Regions from separate parts of the Homo sapiens genome. Here region 1 is linked to region 2. Evidence: promoter capture Hi-C in 16 types of primary human blood cells and fetal thymus (Javierre and others, 2016). All regions are on one chromosome and are shown on one strand. The core of a region is centred on a gene start or on the middle of the fragment in contact, and the rest is flanking DNA. Distances in the headings are between cores, read along the strand shown.

What was found. The method cuts DNA at HindIII sites, captures the fragments that hold promoters and counts their contacts. A CHiCAGO score of 5 or more calls a contact.
Region 1: a contact is called between a fragment that was not itself captured here and the fragment with the promoter of MYBL2 in region 2, in 4 of 17 cell types (monocytes, M0 macrophages, naive CD4 T cells and 1 more). The highest score is 6.2, in monocytes.

What each region holds. Positions count from the first base shown.
Region 1 is chr20:44,195,666-44,198,891 of GRCh38, forward strand. OSER1 (oxidative stress responsive serine rich 1) reads right to left here. Exons shown (of 4, transcript NM_016470.8): 4 at 274-2,074. The coding sequence ends at 1,387. Among named protein-coding and RNA genes, the nearest start is that of JPH2, 10 kb to the left of the region's middle. The HindIII fragment of the contact is 2,051 bases long and covers 315-2,365 here.
Region 2 is chr20:43,665,282-43,668,363 of GRCh38, forward strand. MYBL2 (MYB proto-oncogene like 2) reads left to right here and starts at 1,833. Exons shown (of 14, transcript NM_002466.4): 1 at 1,833-2,022. The coding sequence starts at 2,003. RefSeq lists silencers at 1,628-1,922, 1,659-2,038 and enhancers at 1,628-1,922, 2,689-2,738. The HindIII fragment of the contact is 3,026 bases long and covers 1-2,823 here.

The sequences.
Region 1 (3,226 bases), core at 90-2,589, 530 kb after region 2:
TAGATATACTAAATAGTGTACCTTCTGTCACCATTATCAGGAAATATCTGTCACAGCTTCTAGAACTGTGATAAGGTATTTTGCTCCCTTGCTTTAACCACAGCCTTCAGATGTCACTAAATCCACACCAAACCAATGACCAGCAGAGGACTCCCACTACTACTTAAGCTTAGGGTTTTTCTAGTAAACACCCTTCCCCTCTCCCCCAAGTACAAATCACCTATTTGTTGAAGCCCACATCCCATTATCATGAATCAACCACAGCCAGCGCAGTTTTAGTAAATAGTATAAATGTATTTTGTAATTTAAACAAAAGCTTCTGTTAACATTATTGCTAACATGGCTAGACACTGTCACTAAATTTGGTGGCTCTGCTCAGGATGGTCTGAACACATGCAACATTCTTTTTGGAGCCACCTGAAAAACAAGGATTCATCATCCAGCTGAAACCGAAGACAGATTTTTTTTTTACCAAACTGGAGGGAATTTTGAAATGGCTGACCAAATCTGTGGGATACAGAATGTACAAAATTCTCTTTTAGGGTTGCTGGGGTGACAGGGCAGCTCAAAGAGGTAACCATCTATAACATCTGAAACTGAGGTATGAGACCTGTATTACAACTGATAACAAAAAAAAAAAAAAAAAACCGCCATATATTTAAAATGCTGGAGATGGTGAAGACACACACTCGTTTCAAATATTACACCCCCTCCCTCCAACTGAAGCAGCCCATTCCAAGCTGCTTACTTGAAACTGCATGTAACATGTCTTAGGATGAATAGCACCAGCAGGGGCTTATTTAGTGATGGTTAATAACTCTCTCAAACAATAGAGGGCAGGCCAGCTAGTTTATTCAAATTGAATCTAAACCTTAGATCTCTGGCTTAACAATAACAAGAGAAACCTTTATAGACACAATATATCTTGCATTAAATCAGAGACGGTTTAAATCAGTCTTGTAACTTCTAATATTCTGGGCTGGCAACTACAGCATGACAAATGTTTAGTGCAGTTACAAAATCACATTTTACTTTCCTTGGCTAGCAAACCTTAAACAAATCTGAAAAATGCACTGTTTTACAAAGGCTTTTACCATATACCCACTGCTGCCAGTCTCAAGTAATTATGGTTTCTTCATCCCCCAGGAACATTTCTAAATAAGGGGGATTTTTCTTTGATCTGCTCGCCTTGAAGTGTATGTAAGAACTCAAGAGAGTAAGTTGAAAGAATGAAGATTAACTGAGATGCCAAGAAAAGTTTTTATTGCAAGCACAGTGAGCAGAAAGAGATGTCTTCTCACACAAAGTGGCCACAAGGTCTGCCATTAACTAAATCTCTTTGACAAGCCTTCATTGGTTTAAAGCATATGAATTAGCTTCTTGCTATCAGGTGTACATCATTTCTGCCATGTGGGACATTTTCTTGGGAATATACAAGTAATACTCCATGTAGCCTGACAGGTCCTCAATGGTCACATCATCCACGAAGACTCGAGCTTGCTCAGAACAGGATCGGGGAGAGCCAGACAGAGTTCTGGCGTGCAGCGACTGAGAGTAGTCCTCAAGTGTGGATCTTCGTTCTGGAGCCAAGGGAGGGACACTCTGCAGGCCTGAAAAGGAATACACTTCCATATCATGCCATCTCTTACACTGGCATTCCTTGCCTATGCATGTGCATGGCTTGCCCTGGTTTAGCTTGGAAACTGATTGAAAGTCAGAGAGATCACTGGCTTTGAGACTTGCTTGGGGGACTTGGGTAGCGTCAGAGGAGTCTTCCTTCTTACTCTCTGATGGGAGCCTTGGAACAGAAGTTCTCAAAGGCTCAACGACTGCCCCTGTGTGATTAGCATCGAGAGAAGTAGAGCTTTCTCCTGCACTGAACTCTTTAGGGGATGAAATTCCCAGCCCACTGCTGCCATCAGGTGAGTCAGTCTGGCTTTTGTGCTTGAGTTGACTGCTGGAAGAAGACGCTATTGTACTGCAATGTATAAACTTTGGAGGATGAAGGACAGGAGACTTAGAACGTCGACGACGCTGAGTTCTCACTGCTCCTCGTGAAGACTTCCTTGTAGACCTAAAGAGGAAAAAAAATATACAAGAAGATGTTGGGATATGGAGCTGTCCTAAACAGATTCTTTATGACAGTAGGAAATTTACCTTCCCTCAGCTTTATGAGTCTAAGCTCATAAATTTCCTGCAAGAGATGCACCTTCCTCCATTTTCATGCTGCCTAAGTCTTTGTGTCTCAACAACTTCAACATCATCTTATTAGCAAGCTATAGAACGAGGTGAGATAATGGTATTTTTTAACTGAATCACCTGGGCCAAACATTTGGGACAGAACACCTGCCCTGTTCCAACTCTAAGCTTGGGAGCCTTTGACCAGTGGGTCTGAGGGAAGCACCTCAAACATACAACTGAAACCGATCCTGTGAAGCCTAAATATTGTGCCCTAAACCTGAATATAGCAGCTTCAGAACCACTGTGAGGCTAACGTTACAAATGACCATTATGCCATTACTATTAAATAGATTTCTGATTCATTTCTATCATTGGTAACAGCCAATCAATCAAAACCAAAAAACTAACAATATTTACAACCCCTGAGGTTTTCAGATACTGGGAATTACTGGACACACTATGTAAGATAACTATTTATAAAATATTTAAATAGCCAGGCGCGGTGGCTCACGCCTGTAATCCCAGCACTTTGGGAGGCCGAGGCAGGTGGATCACGAGGTCAGGAGATTGAGACCATCCTGGCTAAAGCGGTGAAACCCCGTCTCTACTAAAAATACAAAAAATTAGCCGGGCGTGGTGGTGGGCGCCTGTAGTCCCAGATACTTGGGAGGCTGAGGCAGGAGAATGGCGTGAATCTGGGAGGCAGAGCTTGCAGTGAGCTGAGATCACGCCACTGTACTCCAGCCTGGGCAACAGAGCGAGACTCCGTCTCAAAAATAAATAAATAAATAAATAAAATAAAATAAAATTAAATAAAGAACTGAATGAAAAGAAAAGATACTCAAAACTGCTAAGTGAATTAGAGACAAGAACCAAACAAGACACTAAAAAGCTAAACAGAACACAGTAATCCCATCTTATCCATGGTTTCGCTTTCTACAGTTTCAGTTACCTGCAGTCAACCATGGTCTGAAAATATTAAATAAAAAATTCCAGAAATAAACAATTCATAAGTTTTACATTGCGCCCCACTGTGAGTGGCATG
Region 2 (3,082 bases), core at 583-3,082:
CCCAGGAAGTCCAGTGTGACTTGATCCTTGGTACTTGGTAAATGTCAATCTAATATAGAAAACCTTTGCTAAATCTCAAGGAAAGACAGTCTCACTGTCTGTCGCCCAGGCTGGAGTGCAGTGGCGGGATGACAAGGGCTTGAGCCCCTCGAACTCCTGGGCTCAAGCAATCCTCCTGCCTCTGCTTCCCAAGTAGCTGGGATTACAGGCATTCACCACCACAGCCAGGTAATTTCTTAATTTTTTGTAAAGACAGGGTCTCACTCTGATCCCCAGGCTGGTCTCAAACTTTTGGACTGAATCAGTTCTCCCACCTCGGCCTCCCAAACTGCTAGGATTACTGGCATGAGCCACTAAATCTGGGCTAATCTCTGGGAGTTTAAACCCAAGGTAAACAATTCAATGCAACAAACCTTTGCCTGGGGCTTCTTATGTCAGGTCTTCTACTGGGCCCTGGAGATACTGGTGTGCATTGAGAGGCCACCTGGACCTCAGGATGCTCCCAGTTCAAAGGGGGAAATGCAGAAGTCTACAGGCAGATTGTGGGCAGTGGACCCCAAATTAAATAGGAATCAGCCACGTGGGAGGGGCAGGAAGTGTTCCTGCCCTGGGTAATGGCTCAGGCAAAGGCAAAGAGGCCGTTTCTTTTGGCCAGGGCTGGGTGGTGGTCTGGAAGATCAGATAAATGTGATTGTGGAGTAAGGAATTTACCCTGAGGGAGAGGAGGATGGTTTTAAATTCTGGAAAGAGCTCACGCCTGCAATCCCAGCACTTTGGGAGGACAAAGCGGCAGGATCTCTTGAGCCCAGGAGTTTCTAGACCAGTCTAGGCAACAGCAACATAGCAAGACACCCCCTTCTCTTAAAAAAAAAAAAAAAAGCGCAGTGGCTCACTCCTGTAATTCCAGCACTTTGGGAGGCCGAGGCGGGCGGATCACGAGGTCAGGAGACCTATACCATCCTGGCCAACATGGTGAAACCTCGTCTCTACTAAAATACTAAAAAAAAAAAAAAAAAAAAAAAAAAATTGCCGGGCGTGGTGGTGTGCGCCTGTAGTTCCAGCTACTTGGGAGGCTGAGGCGGGGGAGTCGCTTGAACCCGGGAGGTGGAGGTTGCAGTGAGTCAAGATCGCGCCACTGCACTCCAGCCTGGCGACAAAGCGAGACACCGTCTCAAAAAAAAAAAAAAAAAAAATCAGCCGGGTGTAGTGGCGAGTGCCTGGTCTTAGCTACCCGTGAGTTGAGGTAGGAGGATCGCTTGAGCCTAGGAGGTGGAGGTTGCAGTGAGCTATGATCGCGAAACTGCACTCCAGCCTGGGCGACAGAGCAAGACCCTGCCTCTAAGAAAAATGAACAACAAAAAATAAAGTCTATTAAGGAGGGTCTCTTGGAGGCAGGAGAGGAAGCAGGGAGAGGCACAGGTAGGGTGAGGAGCCGCTTTAGGGTGCGGCTCTAGGGACCCAGTAGTGGCTTGGACTAGCGTGGGGGATTCCGCCCTGGCGCTTTCCCTGGCTGGCTCTCCCATGCTCGCGCCTCGCTCCCCTTCCTCGGTCTTCGCTATGTGGGATACTCCTGGGCCGCCCCGGACTGACACGTGAGCCAGGCCTCGGTCACATCCCGGCCCGCTCCACAACTCCGAAGTAGCGGCCGCCGCCCCTGTCCTGCAGCCGGCCCTGGAGGGTCTGGGCAGGTGCCGCCCCGCAGGCCCCGCCCCGCCCCGCCCCCTGGCTCCGCCCCTCACTCAGGCCCCTCCCCCGGCGCCCGCGCGCCAGGACTGGGCGGCGCCGACGCGCTTGGCGGGAGATAGAAAAGTGCTTCAACCCGCGCCGGCGGCGACTGCAGTTCCTGCGAGCGAGGAGCGCGGGACCTGCTGACACGCTGACGCCTTCGAGCGCGGCCCGGGGCCCGGAGCGGCCGGAGCAGCCCGGGTCCTGACCCCGGCCCGGCTCCCGCTCCGGGCTCTGCCGGCGGGCGGGCGAGCGCGGCGCGGTCCGGGCCGGGGGGATGTCTCGGCGGACGCGCTGGTGAGACGAGCCGGGAGGGCTTGGGCCCCTCCCCCTCCCTTTAACTCACCCCTCCCCCACCCAGATACCCCCGACCCTCCCCAGGCTCCCACCAAGCTGGGGTGTGTGTGTGTGTTGGGGGTGGGGTGTTTCCGCGGAAATGCTGCGTCCTGGGCCCTCTGAGGCAGGGGCGCGCGTAAAGCTGGGGGGCTCTTGGGCGTCCCTCGCGGCTCCCCAGGCCTGTTGGGCCTCGGAGCTGGGACGGGCGGGTCTCTTGGGACCCGGGCCAAGCCGTGCATGATGTCATTTTGTCTCCCGCCTAATTGCGGGATGGGGGTGGGCCGGCCGGTGTCAGCTGGCAGGGCCTTCGCCGGCGAGGGAGGCGACCCCTGGGAGCGAGAGGGAGTCTTCAAGTCCCAGCCAGTGGGAGACCGAGCCTGGGAGGCACTTGTTGCAGCCTAGTTTTGGGTCAACTTGGTGGGTGGGCTTTGCTCCTTAACATTCCGGGGAGCACAGAGTCCCCCAAGCCCTCTCCCCTGGACTGAGAAGGGTGCTGAGTTGGGGGCTCTTTTGTCTCTCCCACCTGGGTTCCGCGCCCCAGCTTGGTTCGGTTTGAGACCTCTCTTCCTGTTCCCACGAGGAGTTTTGGGCAGCTGGGGTTGAAGGTGCGGGGGAGAGAGAGAGTCCCTGGGGCAAAGGCAGGAACTGCGGTCTCCATTTTACTTATTTCCCCAGAGACTTAAGTGGCAGAGCTGAGCCCGGAGCCAGGTCTGTGGCTCCAGATCCCTGTCTTACACCTGTGCGCCTGGGGCCTGAGCTCCAAGCTTTTCAGCCTGCCTGGGAGACAGGACAGTGGGGTCCTGACCTCTTCCCTGCCTGGATCGCTGCAGCTCAGATAACCTTCGTTCCCTCTTTTTTTTTTTTTTTTTTTTTTTTGAGAAGGAGTCTCGCTCTGATGCCCAGGCTGGAGTGCAGTGGCGCGATCTTGGCTCACTGCAACCTCCGCCTCCCAGGTTCAAGCGATTCTCCTGCCTCAGCTTCCCGAGTAGCTGGGACTTCAGGCACGTGTCACCACGTCGGG